4 separate regions of the Homo sapiens genome follow, and all the other regions are linked to region 2. The links are contacts of gene promoters, found by promoter capture Hi-C in blood cells and fetal thymus (Javierre and others, 2016). All regions are on one chromosome and are shown on one strand. The core of a region is centred on a gene start or on the middle of the fragment in contact, and the rest is flanking DNA. Distances in the headings are between cores, read along the strand shown.

Evidence for each region. The method cuts DNA at HindIII sites, captures the fragments that hold promoters and counts their contacts. A CHiCAGO score of 5 or more calls a contact.
Region 1: a contact is called between the fragment with the promoter of MDM1 here and a fragment that was not itself captured in region 2, in 4 of 17 cell types (total B cells, naive B cells, naive CD4 T cells and 1 more). The highest score is 7.2, in total B cells.
Region 3: the fragment with the promoter of NUP107 here is called in contact with a fragment that was not itself captured in region 2 in 1 of 17 cell types (fetal thymus); the score reaches 6.6 in fetal thymus.
Region 4: a contact is called between the fragment with the promoter of CPSF6 here and a fragment that was not itself captured in region 2, in 1 of 17 cell types (fetal thymus). The highest score is 6.8, in fetal thymus.

The regions. Positions count from the first base shown.
Region 1 is chr12:68,330,923-68,333,622 of GRCh38, reverse strand. It overlaps MDM1 (Mdm1 nuclear protein), which reads left to right and starts at 1,261. Exons shown (of 15, transcript NM_001354969.2): 1 at 1,261-1,395; 2 at 2,402-2,516. The coding sequence starts at 1,378. It overlaps LOC105369819 (a long non-coding RNA gene), which reads right to left and starts at 992. Exons shown (of 3, transcript XR_945057.3): 1 at 1-992. RefSeq lists a silencer at 1,061-1,320 and an enhancer at 1,621-1,710. The HindIII fragment of the contact is 10,890 bases long and covers 1-2,700 here.
Region 2 is chr12:67,271,177-67,273,876 of GRCh38, reverse strand. The region is part of intron 1 of CAND1 (cullin associated and neddylation dissociated 1); the gene reads right to left. Among named protein-coding and RNA genes, the nearest start is that of CAND1, 3.2 kb to the right of the region's middle. The HindIII fragment of the contact is 1,853 bases long and covers 485-2,337 here.
Region 3 is chr12:68,685,716-68,688,415 of GRCh38, reverse strand. It overlaps NUP107 (nucleoporin 107), which reads right to left and starts at 1,438. Exons shown (of 28, transcript NM_020401.4): 1 at 1,343-1,438. The coding sequence starts at 1,350. It overlaps LOC100507250 (a long non-coding RNA gene), which reads left to right and starts at 1,557. Exons shown (of 3, transcript NR_038930.1): 1 at 1,557-1,679; 2 at 2,399-2,553. It also overlaps the pseudogene RPL7P42. The HindIII fragment of the contact is 6,312 bases long and covers 1-2,700 here.
Region 4 is chr12:69,238,187-69,240,886 of GRCh38, reverse strand. It overlaps CPSF6 (cleavage and polyadenylation specific factor 6), which reads right to left and starts at 1,318. Exons shown (of 10, transcript NM_007007.3): 1 at 1,181-1,318. The coding sequence starts at 1,240. RefSeq lists enhancers at 2-581, 582-1,162 and silencers at 626-845, 996-1,495. The HindIII fragment of the contact is 17,360 bases long and covers 1-2,700 here.

The sequences.
Region 1 (2,700 bases), core at 12-2,511, 1.1 Mb before region 2:
ATGATGAAGAACAAAGACATCAATCAGGATTCAGGAAGACAGCTTTTGCGGAAAATGCTTAAAGGGAAGCATCAAGGATTGGTGTTGATATTTGAAAGTTTAAGAGTGGTATACTTTTATTCAGTCAACACATGACAAATGTAAAAGGCACTCATTTGTTGTTCCTGGAAGAAGCCTGGCAGCATTCCATTCAGACATCTGCCCTTTCATCGTCCCACTTTTTACTTATTGCAGTCCTTTCAGTCTGAATATTTCCTCCTGACGCATCTTCTGCCGTCCGAAATGACTCCCTGCTCCCAGATCCTGTAGCCCTTATTATTGACACCTTTCATTTAGAAATTTAGCACATGTCACATTACACCATTATTGAATAAATAATGAATAAATAAATAAATAAAGATGTATGTCCTTCCCAAGTATATCAGAGAACTATCTGGACAATTTCTTTCTTTCCCAATTCTCAGAATCAGCAGTATTCTGTCAAGAAACATTTATCGACGATGATGGCAATAGTCGATTAAAATCAGATGAAGTTTTATTTTTAAAAAAAGGTTGAGCGGAGAGACAAGGCTGAAGGTTTGGAAGTTGAGACAACCATCTTCAATAAACGTTTTCTCATCTAAGGGCTGTATGTACATCATTTTGGGGAAGGTAGAGATTGAAGGAGGAAGAACATCACTGGAGGAAGAGACAGCAGTTTGTCTTTCGAGTTTCAATAAAGTTTCAAAAATCTTGCCTAAGTTATATATTTTTTTGGCCTTTCCCTTTTGATGTGACAATAAACTGTAATGCGGCTGTCGTTTGTACGAACCGATATTCAGCAGAATAAATCTGAGCACTTTCAGAAAAAGAAGCGTTCGGTTTTCTCATAGATGTTAGCATGAAGAACACACTTTGACCTTTGATGCTGTCAAGCACCTGGGCCAGCGAGGCTGGCGGCTGGCGAATTCCACCAGCAAGCAGACGCATTGCTGCGCAGGACCCGGCGAACCAGGGACCGGTCCACCCAACCCAGGAAGGCACCCCCGGGGTCCCGCCCAGCCCGGTTCCGGGAGCCTTATTGGCCGGCCTTCCGCCCGCCATCTCTATCAGCCCCAGGGATTTGGCAAGGGAGGTAGGCGGCTCCCTTTCGGCCACTCATTGGTCAAATCCTAATGGAGGTAAGGCACTCTGCGAGTCTCTATTGGTCCCTAGGCTCCAAAAAGGGCGGGGAAAAACAGACCGACAGGCCTCTAGGCGGGAAGCGCGGAGTGCGCCGGCGCGTAGTCGGGGACGCCGGGCCGAGGCTTTGCTAGGGAACACTGTTATCGCCCCGCCCCCTCGGAGCTTTTTCTCCAGTTAACTGTCGGAGTAGCGGGGGCTCCGGCGCCGGGCGACATGCCGGTGCGCTTCAAGGTGAGGCTGGGGTCCCCGGGCCGGAATGTGGCTGGGGGGAGCCATGGCCGGGGAGGTGTGGAGCGCCGAGGTCACGCTGCTTTTCTGCGCTGCAGCCCTCTGCCCGGCGGAAGCTGCCAGCCCCAGGGCCTGCTCGAGGGGCCCCAGAATCTGCCCGCCGCCTCTTAACCTAGTTCCCTCTCCGCTCACTCACATTTGCAAGCTGCAGTGTGTCGAAGAGTCAGATGGTGCGAGACACATTTACTTAGGGGGACTCAAGAGGAGTGGAGATGGGAGGAGGTCCCTTTGCGAAGAGAACTAAAGGCGACTTCAGATTGGGACACCTGTGGCCCATTTAGCTTAGCATTTAACCCCCATTACCTTTAAAACTTTAGTGTATGTGGCTTTTAAAGGCTTGAGAAATGGGTTCTTAGTAAAGACAGCGTATAAAGAAATACACGTTTTTCATCGTTGTGCATTCTTAGCGTATGTTAAAAGTTCCAGGTAGCTGGTAGCTGTCAGGGACTAGCACCCTGCAACTTCACAGGTGGCCACAGCGTCCCACATCTCCTGACTCATTTATCTTAAAGGCGTGTATTCAGAATGGAAGGGGAGTTTGCCTTTTGTTGACTTTATCAAATAGCAAAAGGTCCTAGGCATGGTACATAATATTGTGTACTCGGTGAAAACCTGCGATAAATCTAGAATGATGAGAATTTAGATTGTCATTAGTTATCCGACAAGAACTCATGCTTTGGAATCAGATAATCAGTGAAAGGGTAACCTCTGAGCCTGGAATTCCTGGTAGCATCTGCCTCAAGTGGTGTTGTGGATTAAAGGATATAACACGTGTGAACTGCTTAGCACAGGGCTGGGTGAATATTAGCTCTTATTAAGGAGCTCGTCTGTGTTTAATTTTCAGTCTTAAGTCTCTTTTGGGAGGTTCAGAAATTATTTTTCACCGATGTCTGCTTTAAAACATCATTCATTAATTGGACTGTACTCAAAAGTGTACTTTGCATTACAGGGGCTGAGTGAATACCAGAGGAACTTCCTGTGGAAAAAGTCTTATTTGTCCGAGTCTTGTAATTCCTCCGTGGGGCGAAAGTACCCATGGGCTGGACTTAGATCAGATCAATTAGGTAAGTTGAGCAGGCTAATAGCCATTCTAACCTGGGCTAAGTTTATAACTTGGGCCAAGCCGTTATAACTTGGGCTAAGTAAACCTTGGGCTAAGTTTACCAAATGATATATTAAAAGTTCAGTTGGCCTGGTTGATTTATTCATTTATTAATCAAGTATTTATTGAAGGTTTACTATGAGCCA
Region 2 (2,700 bases), core at 162-2,661:
ACTATTATATATAGAAAGATAATGATATTTTCTTTAGCTCTTGATTCCTTGGAATATTTTAAATCAACTGGTGGTTGAAGAATATGAAAATAAAAGAAGTGGCTGGGCACAGTGGCTCAAGCCTGTAATCCCAGCACTTTGGGAGGCCAAGGTGGGCAGATTGCCGGAAATCAAGAGTTTGAGACCAGCCTGGGAAACATGGTGATACCCATCTCTATAAAAAAAATTAGCTGAGTGTGGTGGTGCGCACCTGTAGTCCCAGCTACTCTGGGGGCTGAGGTGGGAAGAAAATCGCTTGAGCCCAGGAGGTTGAAGCTGCAGTGAGTTGAGGTGGTGCCACTGCACTCCAGCGTGGGTGACAGAGCGAGACCCTATCTCTAAAAAAAAAAAAAAAAAAGAAAAGAACTTAGTTACCTCAACCTACCAAATATTCAATATTAATATTCACAAATGGAGTGTCACATGGTTCATCCACATTAAAGCTTTCACTCTGGTATCAACCGAATCCCCTATCTATTGGCTACATTATAAGGTTTACTCTTTATTCCTTTATGGAACATGCATCCCTAGAGGTCCTTAAAATAACTATATACACTGGTACAAATGTTTTCTGGCAAAAAGTCTCAGTACACTCCAGAAGTGTTTCTTTTAGGGAGGAAGTGATGAGAAGCACTGTTCTAAGGTACTGTCCCAAGGAATGTTTCTTCATTTTTCTTCTGAAGGTTTTATTTGAATTGGCATTCATTAATAACTTTTCACTAAACCGAGGCTAGTAAGTAACAGGCACTATCCTAGTAATTAAGACACACAAATGCCTCCTCCTTTTTTTAATAAAAGAGCTCCTAGTCTCCTTTTTTTAAAACAAACAAACAAAAAACCCTGCATGGGTGGATGCGGTGCTGGCCTGTAATCCCAGCACTCTGGGAGGCCCAGGCGGGTGGATCACGAGGTTAGAAGATCGAGACCATGCTGGCGAACATGGTGAAACCCCGTCTTGACTAAAATACAAAAAATTAGCCAGGCGTGGTGGTGTGTGCCTGTAATCCCAGCTACTTGGGAGGCTGAGGCAAGGGAGTTGCTTGAACCTGGGAGGCGGAGGTTGAAGTGAGCTGAGATGGCGCCCCTGCACTACAGCCTGGCGACAGAAAAGACTCCATCTCAAAAAAACAAACAAAAAAAACCAAAACAACAACAACAACAAAAACCCTGCATATGGCAGAGTTCCTAATCTCAGCATTTCTCATCCTAATGCTTCCCCATTTCTCCTAAGTCTTAATATCTCATTTTTAAATAATGCACAATACTAAAACACAAAAGAAATATTACAATTTTTCAATAAATTGAGCCTTAATAGTCCTACAAAAAGATTCTTTTAAAATGCAGAAATTTCCAAATTTTTAAGCCTGCATTCATTTCTTTACCTTCTCTGTATTAATGAACTATGTAATTATATAAATAGACCTGAAATTTTATGCCTATAACAACCTTTTGTAATTAGTCATGTCCATGCCTCTCAGAAGTGAAAATGTAATCTCAAATTAAATAGCTTGCATAAGATCTTACAGTTCATAACAAAGAATCACACATGATTAGAACCCAGATCTTGTGACTAGGTCAAATTCTCTTTGGATTCTACCATGAGGATAATAAAATTTGCTCTTCATTTTGGCAGCATTTGTTTCTTCTCTCGTCCTTAGTACAGGCAGAGTGCTTTGCACATGTTGGTCATTCCATAATGTTAACCTTGCCCTCAAGATCCTTCTAGTGCTAGGTATTTTTAAAATATGTAGCCACAAATCTTGGTATTTAAGCCAAAATAAATAAACTTCTAATGAGAACAAGGCATCATTTTTTTAAAAAAGAGCAAATTAAAATAAATGCCTATACTAAAAATATGCAGAAAAAATTTCAAAATTCTTGACTCCAAACGCTCACTAATTAATTATTAAATGTCTGTTTAAACTAAACATATAAAGTGCTTTAGTTCCAAAGACTTGTTTATTAACTAGATGGCTACAGCGCATTATAAAAATGTTTTTTAGAAGACAGTTGATAAAAATATCTTAATGATGCCAAATTACTGGAAATCACGTACTGCTCCTAAATATACCTTGTTTAGCATTCACCAACTATTAGGAATATATCAATATTACACTAATCCTCCAGGAATTGTTTTGATTCAGTACAACCAAAATTCATACATAATCTTTACCAAATTCAGCAGTGACTGTCATTTAGTATCAGAGCACTATTTCTTTCATGTAATTTATTTAAGAAAAAAACAACTAGGTATGTACATGTTATCTTTCTTTCACAGGAAATTTAAGAAAGCAAGCTTCAGTCAATAATCACATGTATGGTATCACCACATAATTTCTTTAGCCTTTCTAAACTTATACAGGAGAATGACTAGTTGAACAAAATTGTATTATTATAAAGTGCTACCTTCAGACTGAAATTGACCACAATCAGAATGAAATTTACCACCTTTACAGGATGAGCCAAACTGACAGCAATGGGGAGGAAATCACGCCACACACCTCATCCATTACTTGAATTGGAAGCAAGCAAAGCCCCAAAAATCAAACGGCATTCCAATCCGTAAAACAACACAAAACCTTTATTTCCCCCAAGAATCTTAATTTTGGCCCTAGAACTACACAAATCTAAAACACACAAAACAAACATGTCACCTCCAAA
Region 3 (2,700 bases), core at 189-2,688, 1.4 Mb before region 2:
TTCAACCCAGGAGGTCTCCTGTCCCATCACAACACTCCCTGTCAGTTTCACTCAAAGGTCTAGAAACTAAATTGTGCGGACTAAAAGGCCTGTGTTTAAGACAAGAATCTAATATGCTTTTCCTCCACTTAAAACCTTCAGATATTCCTTCAGCAGGAAAGTATGGGAAACAACCACATAGAAACAATTTTAAACGTTTAACAATTAAAATTAAAAACAAAAAAAAAAACCTTCAGATAGCTCTCTGGTCTATAGAAGTAAAAATTTCCTAAAATGATATTTACAATGTGACCCCAGTTTAGGGGTTCAGTCTTCTATTCAGCCACAAACATCACTTTAAACGTATACTGCATGTGACCACTGAGCTACACGTACTTTTTTTTCATATCCTAGCACCTCTGAATATGCTTCTTTTACAAAGACCTACATTTGCCCCCTTGAGCACCTGGTCAACAACTACTTACTCCTCAAAGAGCCTCAGGTAGGCTGGAGACACACAGATGCAGGTTGGCAATTTGGTTCTTGTATTTATTAGCTTCCGAACTTTCAGCAAGTTCCTTAACCTCTTTTAGTCTCAGTGTTATATATGAAAAAAGGATAACAGTACCCATCTCATAGGATTTTTCTTGTTCTGAAGATTAAATAAGCTAATAATATATATTCAACGCCTTTAGAACAATGGCAGTCACATAGTAGGTACTCAATGTTTGGAGTACGAATAATGTACTCTTATTATTCAAAGACCAGCTAGAAAGTTACCTTCTTTGAGGGGTCTTCCTGATAGTTACAGTGACAAGGAGACTTAATCGCCCCCAAACACTTACCACTTTACACTGCTTGGTTGTCTCCATTACACAACTAATTCCCCGAGGGGAAGGATCTTGAATAACTGATCTTTGTTGTAGGCGGCTAGCACAGTACCCAGATCATAGAGGGAACTCAGAATCTGATGCTGGCACTTGTAATCAGAAAGTCTGGGCTGAGATCCCAGTATCTTCACTGACTGGCTTTGTGATCTCAGGCTGGTCACTTAGCATTTCGAACGCCGCGCTACCTACCCCGCCCACCCCAGGAGCGAACAGTGTTGCTGCCCCAAAGCGCCGAATAGATCGCAGAACGTAGTGGGAAAGTAAGGGACTATTATGATCTGTACCCCACCCCGACGCACGCCAAGCGGCTTTTTCCCCATTTGTGGCCAAATTTCCCGGCATGGGGAAGGAGCCTTAGGGGAAGCACCCGGGACCTCCTTGGCTTCTTCTGGGAGTCTAGTTTCACCTATTTCGTTTCGCCAACAGGCGAGACGGGCAAGACTTCGGGCTCAGCTGCCACCATCAGTACTGACCTGTCCATGGCTAAAGCCTTTTCCACACACAACCAAAGTTGGCTGCAGTTTAGCTACCGCGTTTTAGCCTTCCCGCTCTCCGGAAGCAAGCCCTTCGACCCGGAAGCAGTCTGTCCCTAAAACAGACCCACAGAAAAGGGGTAGGGGAGAAGAAACAACGTTCCCATCTAGCGCATGCGCGACTTCAGCCTACAGGTGCACGCCCGGTGGGCGCAGGCGCAAAAGTTTGCCAATGTGTTCCTGGTTGCGTTTAGCCCAGACGCCCTGCGGCCGCTTTGCCTGACCAAAGTCTGTGGGCGTGGAACAGGCCCTGGGTTCTCCTACTGGGAAGAATGAAGTATGTTGATAGTCTGGAAAAATGTGAAGTCATTTCCTGGTATTCTCTGTCAGAAAGCGCCTGTTCTTGGAATTCAGATGCGTGGGCTCTGCCCCACACCTCGGGGATCTCTATCTCTCTGCCTACACTCAGTCCTTTGTTCTGTAGCCCCCTGCAGTTTTTGCAACTATTTTCCATAACTGCTATTTGTTCTTTACTTGGTGTTCTTTCCTATTAAGGAGAAAAAGTTCACCTGTATTAAAAAGTAGAAAGGCAAGCGTGAAATATGATGGTATTGCCCTCTATTTCAAAGTGCCGTCTAGGCAAAAAGTGGTGTATTTTGGTCTTGAAGGAGTCAGTCACATTTTTGTTTTGGTTTTTGTTTTTTCCAGTTTGAAAGTAGTGACTGGCTATTAACTGACCAGATTACAAAAATAATGTTAGATGCTTCAGTTTATCCGTTTAATAAGCCTGTTGATATAGTCTTTTCTGTTGCTGGCATTTATACCTTTTATTAATACAAAATAGGTAGTCCTTCATTCTCCCTCGTGGAGAAGATAATTTGAAGGATCACAGGAACTTGAGTTTTTCAACAGCATAGATCTCATGAATCAGATTCTCCAGTCAGATGATGCCATATTTATCAGGAAATCTAGCAATCAAAGCGTTATCTGTTAAGGTAATTTGTTTATTGATTTTGCCATAACCAATTTGTAGATCAGTTCATTTACTGATTTCAGGTTCAGGTACTCCATGTGATATATGGTTCCACAATCCTCAGCGTGTTAACTGAAGCCTTGTTGAGTTTAACAAAGCTGCCATTGAAGATCTGGGGAAAGTGAAGAAGTTGCAACAGAGTTTTGGGCTCACACCATTGATACATTTGATCCTTAAGGCAAGTGACAATTTGGGTTTCACAGGTATATAGAAATTGCCAGCTTTTCTTGCCATATATTTCTTGTGACAGTGCTGAGCTTTTTTTTTTTACTTCTTGCTTGCTTTTTTTTGGACTTGATTTTTTAAATTATGTTTCCTTCCTTCC
Region 4 (2,700 bases), core at 69-2,568, 2.0 Mb before region 2:
CTACATAAAATGCAGTAGATACGAACAGCAGGTTCAAACCTTAAACGTCACTAGCAACAAACGACATCTTTTGCAAGGATGCCCATTAACAGACATCACAGCCCCGCGTTACCTCTAAGCAACGTCGTTCAGGAAAACCTTGCATTCTCACTTTCGCTCAACCTTTCAAAAGGTAACACGGGGCCCGGGGGTGGGGGTGGGGGGATTTAACACTTTGTTTTCGAAAATAGGGTCTTATCTATAACTCTTTATTTTTAAACCACATCATAAGGATTTGGGGTGAACGTTCTTTCATTTTAATCACTATGAGATCTGTGGGTGAGCTAACATCTTTTTGTTCCATCCAACCATCGCGCTTCCAATTCTTCCTTTTGGTCCCCGGCCACTCATCTTCACAGGTATTTTCATCACAAAGGCCAACAACGACTGGGCTTCAAAGCACTGCAAGCCCTGGATTAATGAGGCAGGACCAGCGCACCGACTTTTATCTGTGGCTCCAAAAGTCAAAGGACTTGTTGCAAATGAGCCCGCACCTCAGTCGCCTTCAGAAAGTGTGAGGGGAGGAGGAAGGCGCCACGCCGAAACCTGTCGCAAACCCGAGAAGGAGAGCCCCGGGGACTGGGCGCGCGGGATACAAAGGGCCGTGAACGCGGCCTTCCATGAGGCGACAGTGCGCGGGCAGGGAGACAAAATGGAGCGATGGGAGGAATCGGAGCCCGAGCGGCAGCGGCGGGGAAGGGGCGGCGGCGGCGGGCACGCGCCCCGCCAGGGCTTCCTCCTCCGACCAGCGACGGGGGAGGGGGCGCGGCGGCGGCCAGTTCTCTCCGCCGCTTACACGCGGCCCCACCGCCCGGGCCTAGCGCGGCGGGAAGCGCCAGCCGGGTGCCGCCAACAATAGGGAGCGAGGCAGCGCCGGCGAGGGAGGAGCCGGCGGCAGCTGCACAGCGGCCCGCGTCCGCGCTCCGGGCCCCGCGGCGACTCGCCGCGCCCGCGGCCCGTGAAACGACGCGGTAGAACGAGGGGCGGGGGGGCGCCACGCCAGGGGTCGGCGGCGCGGCCCAGAGGCGGCAAGGGCGCACACTCTGCAGTCGCTTCGGCTCGCGGCCGCAGCGGGCCCCGGGTCAGCTTCCCGGCCGCAGCGCCGCCCGCGTCGGCGGCGGGGACCTGGGCTCTCACGTACCTGGTTGAACTCTTCGCCGACATCCGCGTAAATGTCTATGTGGTCCACGCCGTCCGCCATCTTCCTTCAGCCTCGGCCGCCGCCGCCGCCGCCGCCTCCTGCAGGTCTGCCCGCCGCGGCAGCAGCAGCGGATCTAGCGGCGGTGGGGGGGCGCTTGCGTCACTTCCGAGGCCCGAGGGAGGGAGGCGCGGGCGACAGGGGCCGGCCGGGGGCGGGGACTCTGCAGCCCAGCCGCTCTGCTGGCTGAGGAAAGGCTGCGCCTCTGAGGGCAGAGGACGTTTCTTTTGTGTCTGGGTGAGGCCCGGGAGTGGGGGCCAATTTTTTTGTCCTACTCGCGCATCCAGCTTAGCAGTGGGTCCCACCTGTTTCCACACACCGTCTTTTCACGTGGCCTCTGGCATACTCAGACGTTTTGTTAATATTTTCATTTATCCGTTGTTCTTATCTTTCTCACATCCAGGACTTTTAAAGGTGGAAGTTATATGTCCGTGCTTAAATGCAAAGTGTAACCCCCGGGCATTCTGTGAACGGCTTAAGACCAAAAACAATGTCTTGTTTCTGCATCCTCAGAGACCAGCAGAGTTTTATTTGCATCGTAAACGCTAGATACCCGTCAGTGGTTATCTTTGCATGCTGTTTATGTTGCCATTTCCATCTCTAATCTTCGTGGGCTTCTTTCCCCCCCACCTTCCTCTCGCATTCATTGCCATTCATTTTTTCTTCCTTAGATCTACAGTAGGTTGTCTCTGGCGTAGTTCAGATGCTTCTAACATGAATGCAGTCATCTTAGAGCACACCCAAGAGAGTGGAGGTATCTTGAGGCCAGGGGGGCTTCTCTCTCAGAATCCTAGAATGTCCCAACGGGAAGGGAACTGGAAAGGTGTCCTTAGGTCTAAACATCTCATTTTACAGAAGAGAAGACTGAGGCCTAATAGAACCTAAGTGATTTAACCAGGTCACATGGTCAATAAAGGTAGGAACATTCAGCCACGATACTTTACTCAAAGATGTCTCTCCAGTTTGAAACTTTCCCCTCCATTCTTAATTTCTTTTTCACTCATTAAAAAATATACTGTAGTAGAGCGTGTTTCCTGAGAAACTGGCCAGAAATCATTCATAGAATAACCCAAACAACATCTGTAAGGTTGGGCATCTCTAATCCAAAAATTTGAAATGCTCCAAAATCTGAAACTTTTTGCGCACTGACATGATGCCACAAGTGGAAAATTCCACACCTGATCTTATTTGCCAGGTCGCAGTCAAAAATGCAATCAAAACTTTTTTTCATGCACAAAATAACTAAAAGTATTGTATGAAATAATCTTCAGGCTGTGTGTATAAGGTATATGTGAAACATAAATGAATTTCGTTTAGGCTTGGGTCCCATCTCCTGGATAATTTATGTATATGCAAATATTCCAAAATCCCCTCAAATCCAAGCATTTTTGCATAAAAAAGACTCAATCTGCACTTGGTATGGTGGAAAAAGCATGGTTGCAGTCCTGGAGGCCAGTCTGGTG